Regions from separate parts of the Homo sapiens genome. Here region 1 is linked to region 2. Evidence: promoter capture Hi-C in human tissues and cell types (Jung and others, 2019). All regions are on one chromosome and are shown on one strand. Each heading gives the region's core, a stretch centred on a gene start or on the middle of the fragment in contact. The rest is flanking DNA. Distances are from core to core; before and after follow the strand shown.

The links. The method cuts DNA at HindIII sites, captures the fragments that hold promoters and counts their contacts. A contact is called where the count stands out against the background at its distance.
Region 1: a fragment that was not itself captured here is called in contact with the fragment with the promoter of PAN2 in region 2 in 1 of the 25 tissues and cell types used here (liver).

Annotation. Positions count from the first base shown.
Region 1 is chr12:55,983,561-55,988,606 of GRCh38, forward strand. It overlaps RAB5B (RAB5B, member RAS oncogene family), which reads left to right. Exons shown (of 6, transcript NM_002868.4): 2 at 3,309-3,563. The coding sequence starts at 3,401. Among named protein-coding and RNA genes, the nearest start is that of SUOX, 11 kb to the right of the region's middle. The HindIII fragment of the contact is 5,763 bases long and covers 707-5,046 here.
Region 2 is chr12:56,330,999-56,335,932 of GRCh38, forward strand. PAN2 (poly(A) specific ribonuclease subunit PAN2) reads right to left here and starts at 3,002. Exons shown (of 26, transcript NM_014871.6): 1 at 2,864-3,002; 2 at 1,815-2,210. The coding sequence starts at 2,096. RefSeq lists enhancers at 2,838-3,007, 3,133-3,352, 3,270-3,439 and cis regulatory regions at 2,907-2,938, 2,923. The HindIII fragment of the contact is 7,233 bases long and covers 1-4,934 here.

The sequences.
Region 1 (5,046 bases), core at 2,338-4,837, 350 kb before region 2:
TGTTCCTCTGTATTAATCTAGTCTACTTTGGGACCTTGAGTTCTCACCTCTCATTCTTTTGCTAACTTCCTCTTTACCCTTTAGTTATGTCTCCTTTTTTTTTTTTTTTTTTTTCCAGAGATAGCGTCTTGTTCTGTCGCCCAGGCTGGAGTGCAGTGGTGTAATCAGCTCACTACAACCTTCAACTCCTGGGCTCCAGTGATTCTCCCACCACAGCCTCTGGAGTAGCTGGGATTACAGGCACATACCACCATGCCCAGCTAATTTTTTTAAATGTTTTCTAGAGACTCAGTCTCGCTATGTTGCCTAGGCTGGTCTCAAACTCCTCACCTCAAGCAAGGCTTCCCCTTTTATCTCCCAAACCCCTGGGATTACAGGCATGGGCCGCTCTGCCAGGCCTGTTTTTTCTCTTTTTCTTTCTCTGTACCACTTTCATATTGTGGCTTCTTCCCTGCCCCCGATCTCCCCCCTACCCACCCCAGGTGGAGTCTTGCTCTGTTACCCAGGCTGGAGTGTGGTGGCACGATCTCGGCTCACTGCAACCTCCGCCTCCCGGGTTTAAGCAGTTCTGCCTCAGCCTCCCGAGTAGGATTACAAATGCCGGCCACCAACCACACCCGGCTAATTTTTTTTTTTTTTTTTTAGACTGAGTCTCGCTGTTGCTCTGTCGCCAGGCTGGAGTACAGTGGTGCAATCTCAGCTCACTGCAACCTCCACCTCACAAGTTCAAGCAGTTCACCTGCCTCAACCTCCCAAGTAGCTGGGACTACAGGCACGCGCCACCACGCCCAGCTAATTTTTGTATTTTTAGTAGAGACGGGGTTTCACCATGTTTGCCAGGCTTGTCTCAAACTCCTGACCTCCTGATCTGCCTGCCTTTGCCTCCCAAAGTGCTGGGATTACAGGCGTGAGCCACTGTGCCCGCCTTTTATTTTTTGAGACGGAGTCTCGCTCTGTCACCCAGGCTGGAGCACAGTGGCGCATCAGCTCAGTGCACCCTCTACCTTCTGGGTTTAAGCGATTCTCCTGCCTCAGCCTCTGGAGTAGCTGGGATTACAGGTATGCACCACCACACCCAGCTAATTTTTTTTGTATTTTTAGTGGAGACGGGGTTTCACCATGTTGGCCAGGCAGGGCTCGAACTTCTGACCTCAGGTGATCCACCTCAGCCTCCCAAAGTGCTGGGATTATAGGTATGAGCTACTGCACCCAGGCTGTGGCTGCTTTTTAGGAATATATTGATAACAACTAATATTGAGATATATTTTAATAGCTATTAGCACTATGCTAAACACATCTTTCACTTATTATTTGTAGCTATGAGGATGGTATTTTTTCCATTTTACAAAGGTAGAAGGTAAGGCTTAGAGAGGTAGAGAAATTCTCTTTATATCATATTAGTAATGATTAGTAGCTTAATATTTATTTAGCACTTAGTATCTATCAAATACTTAAAATACTTTAGTTATTTATATGCATTATCTCATTTAATCCTTACAACACCCTTATGAAGTAGGTGCTTATAAGGCTATTATCTCATTTTACAGATGAGGAAATGAATGCACACATATATTTAGTGACTTGCTCAAGGTTCATAGCTAGTAAGTAGAGCTGAAAAACAAACGTGGAGAATTGGACTCCAGAGCCTTTATTCCTCTGAATTGCCTCCTGTATGATTTTCTGTCTTTACGATCTAGTAAGTGGGGTTACTGAAAATTTTTAACCCCAGTTTAACTCCAGTCCCACTAATTGTGGTGACAAAATAATGATGTTTCCCCACATATGCCATAGAGTATGATGTCTGTGAAGTCACTAGGATCTGCTTTGGAAAAGCGAAAGAGTAATTTGAACAAGCAAAGTACAACTCTCAAGCAATGCTTAGGTTTGGGAGAGAGGTTTTTGCATGCTCTGCCTATGCTAACTTCCCTTTGAATTTCATAGTTCCTTTCCGCTCAGAGTCAGGATGATGAAATGTATTCAGATTTAGACGATTAGAATCTCAAAGTCCCAACTCTTCTCTCTGTTCCCTGCCCCACCAGCAGCTTTCTTAGCCCTCTTAGAAGATAGAGGAGCTGATTCAGTGTATTCTTTCATCAAATACTGATTGCTTGCAGACTTAACGCCCTATACCATCCTCTGGAGACTTCTGCATGTCTTTAGAAGGTATACCTTTCTCTGCCTCTAATTTGGAGGGCTACAGCTGTTAGGCCCCTTTGGTGTGGAGGGTAATCTAATCCCTAGGCACCAGCAAGACAGCTGCAAGTTGAGAGTAGGTCAAGCTTACTGATTCTTGATAGACTTTCAGATTTGGAAAGATGGCAGAAACAAAGTGAAAAAAGAGTTGTTAATGAAACAAAGAGTTGATAATGAATGTGATCTGTTGGTTGTATTTCTCTCTTTACCTTCAACCAAAAATGAGAAAGGATAGATTTTGTGGCAATGGGACCCTGGTTAGATCTTTAGAAATGTCTTATCAGGGAGACCGGTCATATATAAAGGATACAGCAGCAACTACCCTTCTGCCCTTAGGAGTGGTGACTCTTATCCCACACCCCTAGAGTGAATCTCTCATTTTGACAAAGAGCTAAGGAAAAATGAAAAGAAGGCCAGGCACGGTGGCTCATGCCTGTAATATCAGCACTTTGGAAGGCCAAGGCGGGCAGATCACCTGAGGTCAGGACTTCTTAGACTAGTCTGACCAACATGGAGAAACTCCGTCTCTACTAAAAATACAAAATTAGCCAGGCGTGGTGGTGCATGCCTGTAATCCCAGCTACTCGGGAGACTGAGGTGGGAGAATTGCTTGAACCCGGGAGGCAGAGGTTGTGGTGAGCCAAGATTGTGCCATTGCACTCCAGCCTGGGCAACAAGAGTGACGTCTCAAAAAAAAAGAAGAAAAGGAAAAGAAGAGCACAGCACCAGGATGCCAAGGAGATACTGGGGATCTAGGGTACCGGTGGGTGGATCTGGATATTCTTCAGGCCAGCTAAAGGTTGATCACTTTGTGTGACTCAAACAAAAAACTTTGAAGACCTGGTGGGGAATTACTGGGGAATTAAAAACTCTCAGTTTTCAGTCTCTCTATTTCGGCTCCCTTGGCAGTTAGAGATTATGTGGTAGGGCAGACTCCAGAAGCAGTTCTTATTTTGCTCTTCCCAACTCTTACCACTGAGGATCAGCTGCCTGGGACCTTCTCAGAGCTAAGTCCTCATAGAAGCAAGGAGATGAAGAGGTTCTATCCTTCTCTGAAAAGCGATTGCAGCTTCAATGGACGTATGTTTAATTTTATTCACTTTTTTTTCTTGCAGGAGTGTTGAAGCCTGGAAATCCCCTCCCCTTCCCCCTCCCCCCTTTACAGTATCCCCCTCCCTCCACCCTTTCCCATTCTGATAATCTGGCCATGACTAGCAGAAGCACAGCTAGGCCCAATGGGCAACCCCAGGCCAGCAAAATTTGCCAGTTCAAATTGGTCCTGCTGGGAGAATCTGCAGTGGGAAAGTCAAGCCTGGTATTACGTTTTGTCAAAGGGCAGTTCCATGAGTACCAGGAGAGCACCATTGGAGGTGAGTGCCTTGGGGTAATAGGAGATTGAATGTTTGGTAAGGGTTTTTTTTTTTTTAGATGGAGTCTTGCTCTGTTACCCAGGCTGGAGTGCAGTGGCGCAATCTTGGCTTACTGCAACCTCTGTCTCCCAGGTTCGAGCGATTCTCATGCCTCAGCCTCCCGAGTAACTGGGATTACAGGTGCACACCGTGGCACCTGTCTAATTTTTGTATTTTTAGTGGAGAGGGGGTTTCACCATCATGTTGGCCAGGTTGGTCTCAAACTCCTGACCTCAGGTGATCTGCCTGCCTCGGCCTCCCAAAGTGCTGGGATTACAGGCGTGAGTCACCACGCCGGGCCGGTAAGGCTTTTGAAAAGAGATATAAGACCTGATTATGGAGCTGGCCCTCTTAGTCCCATTCTTTTCCCCAGAAATGGAAACCCTTTATAAAAACAGAGGCCGGTCCCAGTGGCCCACCACTTTGGGAGGCCAAGATGGGCGGATCACCTGAGGTCAGGAGTTCGAGACCAGCCTGCCCAACATGGCGAAATCCTGTCTCTACTAAAAATACAAAAAATTAGCCAGGCGTGGTGGCAGGCGCCTGTAATCCCAGCTACTCGGGAGGCTAAGGCAGGAGAATCACTTGAACCCAGGGGGCAGAGGTTGTAGTGAGCCGAGATTGCGCCACTGCACTCCACCCTGGGCGACAAGAGCAAAACTCCATCTCCAAAAAAAAAAAAAAATCAAAATCTGGTAAAATAGGCTGGGCATGGTGGGTCACACCTGTAATCCCAGCATTTGGGAGGCCAAGGCAGGCGGATCACTTGAGGCCAGGAGTTCAAGACCAGCCTGGCCAACAAGGTGAAATCCCCGTCTCTACTAAAAATACAAAAAATTAGCTGGGCGTGGTGGCACATGCCTATAATTCCAGCTACTCAGGAGGCTGAGGTAGGAGAACTACTTGAACCCAGGAGATGGAGGTTGCAGTGAGCCAAGATTGCGCCATTGCACTCCAGCCTGGGTGACTAGAGTGAAAATCCGTCTCAAAAAAACAAAACAACAACAACAACAACAAAGATTAGCCGGGCATGGTGGCACATGCCTGTAATCCCAGCTACTTGGGAAGCTGAGGCAGGAGACTCGCTTGAACTCATGAGGCGGAGGTTGCAGTGAGCCAAAATCACGCCAGTGCATTTTATCCTAGGCGAAGGAGCGAGACTGTTTCAAAAACAAAAAAAAATCTGGTAAAATAGAGGCTGGAACTAATGCAAAATACAAAGGGTGTCTGTCTTTCTCATCTTTGCTACCTTTTCCCCACTACTACCCCAAAATAGGGTGCTAATTCAATAAAGGATCTTTTATGAGAACTTCCAAATTATTCCTTCCCCTTGTTATTTTTATTTATTTATTTATTTATTTTTGAGACGGAGTCTCTGTCGCCCAGACTGGAGTGCAGTGGTGCAATCTTGGCTCATTGCAACTTCTGCCTCCCAGGTTCAAGT
Region 2 (4,934 bases), core at 1,752-4,251:
CATGTTGGCCAGGTTGGTCTTGAATTCCTGACCTCAGGTGATCCGCCTGCTTCGGCCTCCCAAAGTGCTGGGATTACAGGTGTGAGTCACCATGCCCAGCCAGCATTTTTCTTAACAGTACTAATCAACACCTGATGTATTGTAATGTTTTTCTGTTTACTGCTTATTCCAAACCTAGACCTTAGGGCAAGGTCTGACACCTAGCATGTGGCTCAAAAAAACACTGGTTGAATGAATAAATGTCTACCTCTTCCAGTCCGGTAAATCCTAATTGCTTGTAGTTCCTGAATTTTGTACTCAGCAAGCTTTGTAGTATCTTGGGAATCTTTGTTTATCCTATGCTAAGACGCCTTTTCCCATCTTTCTCACCTGATTTCTACTCATGTTGCAAGACTCAGTTCAAGGGTTACTTCCTCCTCGATGCCCTTTCTGACTATTCTCCATCCTGTCCAGCATCCAGTACAGATTTTCACACTGGCGCTTAGTACCATGAAATTATCTGGTTTTGTATATGTTTTTTACCTCACTGTCCTGTAAACTCCTTGAGGGCAAGGATTATGTTTTATTTAGCTTTATTCACAGTGCCTAGCATAGCAGTAGACACTGCCTATTAAACTGAATGAATCACACACAAAAATTCATCCCTTCTAATGGAAAAACAATTCATGACCAAAGAAGTCAATCAGTAAATGAAGGACAGCGTTTTTTTTTTTTTTGTTTTTTGTTTTTTTTTGAGACGGAGTCTCGCTCTGTCACCCAGGCTGGAGTGCAGTGGCGTGATCTCGGCTCACTGCAACCTCTGCCTCCCAGGTTCAAGCGATTCTCCTGCCTCAGCCTTCCGAGTAGCTGGGACTACAGGCGCCTGCCACCATGCCCAGCTAATTTTTTGCATTTTTAGTAGAGACAGGGTTTCACCATGTTAGCCAGGATGGTCTCGATCTCCTGACCTCGTGATCCGCCTGCCTCAGCCTCCCAAAGTGCTGGGATTACAGGAGTGAGCCACCGGTCCCGGCCGGACAGCACAGTATTTCTTACAAAGTCTTTGGGCACCATAGCATATTGGCAATACGGGTACAGATTTTAAAAAATTAAGATTGATAACTGCTCTGAGAGATATTAAAATCAGCCAGAGAAGACAAAATGATTCAATGGAAGATATGCAGAATCATTCATTAAATATTCTATAATAATAAAAATAGAAAACACAGGTGGGGCAACAGCAATTGAGATTAGATTTGGATGGCTACAGACTAAGTGATGGGTACAACTATCAAGATAAATCAAAACACTGGATGGGCAATTGTGACAAAAGTGGGATGCTGGCCAGGTGCCGTGGCTCACACCTGTAACCCCAGCACTTTGGCAGCTCTATGCAGGAGGACCATTTGAGCTCAGGAGTTTGAGACAAGCCTGGGCAACATAGTAAGACTAAAAAATTTTTTAAAAATTAGCTGGTCTTGGTTGCGCATGCCTGTAGTCCCAGCTACTTGAGATGCTAAAGTGGGAGGATTGTGTGAGCCCAGGAGATTGAGGCTGCAGTGAGCCATGATCACATTACGCCATTGCACTCTGGCCTAGGCGACAGAGCAAGACCCTGTCTCGAAAAAAAAAAAAAAAAAAAGGGATGCCTCCTGAGAAAGAATATGTCATTTACTCCTAGATCCTAGATTCTCCCTTTATCCCTCCAACCAGACCCAGCTGTCTCATCACTACAACTCCTCGGTACTGGCTATCTGCAAAGCAGCTTCCTTGGGTTAAGACCAGATAAAGACCTTCAACATCTTTCAACCCTCACAAAGGGGTACAGTTCTTACCCCGTGGCTCCCCACCCACAGCATCTCCTCGTGCAAGTCAAAGTGGGAGACGGAAACAGGTACACCCACTTCAGCCACCACGCTGTGCAATTCAGAGTAGACACCTTCCATTATGTGCACTGATTCCTGGACGGGAAGAGCCTCCAAGGCCACTCCCTCTGGGTCCAGCTCCACATTCTGTAGCAGACTTGGGTTCAGGTGGGCATCCAAGACAGGGTCCAGGGCAGAATGCATGGCTGGGGCATATTCTGCCAGTCCAGGGTCCAGACCCTCAAAGTTCATGATGACGATGGCAGCTTACACCTGTGTCACACCCTCCCTTACCACAGTCCCTTTAGATGCCTGACCCAACCTTCAGCAAGACAGCACCGATGGGCCTAGAATGGACATCCTGGCCTGTAAGGGGAAAGAGGTAGCTGAGTCAAGGGTAGGCCCAGGTACTGGTACTTAGGGTCTTCTAGGTTATGGGGGCAGGAGGGAGATGAGGCAGGCATGAGGGATGAGACTGCCAGCCAAAGGATGAAGCAGGCGGGGGAGGGATGGGCAGTGGGGGTGGAGGTGGTAGAACTGTTGTCCCTATCCCTCCTCCGCTAGGCCCTCTGTACTCTCCACCACCCCATTATCTAACCTAATCCTTGACTTCCCTTTCTTCTCACTTCGGACTGCTCACTTGCCTTGTTCAGCCCTGAATCATCAGGTGAAGGGAGCGAGAATTGCGGGGGTTGGAGTTAGGTAGAGGGATTTAAGGTGCTTTCTCCCAGAATTGGGGGTGAAAACGGGTGGATTGGACGGTGGGGAGAACGAGAAGTCAGTTTCCTAGAATCCTCTCCAATAGCTACCCAGGATTCTCTAGAGGAAAACAATAATGGCCAGTTACCCACAATTGGGGCGGGGGCAGGGGAAGGTGACGGAAACGGCTAGTTACCCAGAATTCTCTGGGGGAACCAGAAAAATCGGTTATCTAGAATTCTCCCACGGCAGCGGTGAGGAGGGGGATAGGGCAAGGGTCAGATGTGTTCCTGGGATGCTTACGGGGAATGGGTCATTACCAAGATTTCTCCATGGCGGATATTTTGGAGCGCGTGGAATTAGAACGAGTAGGGGGAGCGCAAGCGCTGTCAGCTCCGCGGGAAATTCCAGTTTCCCCAGTTCTCCCCCACGCCTAGGGCTCAACCTAACCACTACGGCGCCAAGGACCGGGGTCCGAGGCGCTTCTTCCAATCAAGAAGGGCTCGGGGCATATTTTAGCCAATCAGAAGGGCTCCGGGCGCATCTAAGCCAATCAGAAGGAGCCAGGTACGGCGACCCCAGGAGAGAGCGTGTGACGCACGCGCCGGAAAAAGAGGTTACGGGGCGCCGGTGGGACAAACGCAGCCAGACGCCGGACTTGTTGGGTGGCGTTAGAAAGTAACTCTGTTTTTAGTCTTCTTGAACAAAATTACGTCTAGGTTTGAAAACCAAACTTTTATGCTTTCTATAACTTTAGGAACTCTAAAATAAGGGACACACAAGGCAAAGCACTAGGAGTCGCTGTTGGGTATTCCCAGCGGGGCTTAGTCTACCTCCTCTTCCTGCGGTGCCCTAGTGAGCCACTCCGCCACCTCTGACCCTGTTGCCCCCAAAACTCGCTGGCATTTCCTATTATTTCCAGATATGGGAGAGAAAAAAAAGGAAGCGGGAGCCGGACTCCTGACACAGTCCAAGTGGCTGCATCTTCTACAGGCATCCATCTGAAACTCCCATCCGTGATTGTTCCCTCCCCAGAGACCCCGGTAACATTCCCGGGTAACAAGATGCCCCTGGTTATCAAATTCCCCTAGCTCTTGAGGCTGGCTGGACGTTATCCCTCAGAGGGGGATGAGCATGGCAAATTGGGACTTGTTATTCTGAAGGATTCGTGGGTCCTGTGAACTCTAATTACTTTGAAATGGGTCTAGGTTGTGAGATGTCTCAGAGCACTTTAGCTCAGCTGTTATTACTGTTTCTAAAGGCCACATAAAGGGACTCTGATGGGAGACATTCCTCATGGAGGATTCAATTCTATAACATTTCTCTCAATAAAGGCTGGTAAATAGACCTTCATTAAAGGAACCAAGAATTTAAATTTCTAGGACTCAGAGGGGTGGGGTCCTATACCCAGTCAGAGATCCTACCTAGAGCCTAGACCAAGAGAAAAACACAGATGGTCTCTCAAACTGATTTGATCTGACTTCGCAGGTCATTAGATATAGAATCTCCGAAAAAGGTGGATGCTGAGAGACATAGACAGTTCCTACACTTTAAGAAATCTCCATCTTGAGGTCTCAAATTGAGAAAGACTTAACAGACCCATGAGAGTTACAGATCCCTAATAACCTGGGCTAAATAATCCATGTCTGCCGGGCGCAGTGGCTCACGCCTGTAATCCCAGCACTTTGGGAGGCCGAGGTGGGCGGATCACCTGAGGTCGGGAGTTCGAGACCAACCTGACCAATATGGAGAAACCCCGTCTCCACTAAAAATACAAAATTAGCCGGGCCTGGTGACGGGAGCCTGTAATCCCAGCTACTTGGGAGGCTGAGGCAGGAGAATCATTTGAACCTGGGAGGCGGAGGTTGCAGTGAGCCGAGATGGCACCATTGCACTCCAGCCTGGTCAGTAAGAGCGAAACTCCGTCTCAAAAAAAAGAAAAAAAAAAAGAAAAGAAAAAAGGATACTGTGAGGAGACACAAGAGCATCCATGACATAGATTATTTAGCTCAGCTGTAATTACTGTTTCTAATACAGTAATATTAGATGGTGATCTGCCTGCCTCGGCCTCCCAAAGTTCTGGGATTACAGGTGTGAGCCACCGCGCCCAGCCTTTTTTTTTTTTTTTTTTTGAGACAGGATCTCACTCTGTTGCCCATGCTTAAGCGCATTGGCCCTCTCACTCACTGTAGCCTCAACCTCCTGGGCTCAAGCGATCCTCCCACTTCAGCCTCCCAACTAGCTGTAACTACAGGCACTGGCCACCAAACCCAGATAATTTTTTTTTTCCTGTAGAGGTGGGGTTTTGCCACGTTACCCAGGCTGGTCTTGAACTCTTAAGCTCAAGCGATCCTCCTGCCTCGGCCCCCCAAAGTTCTGGGATTACAGGCA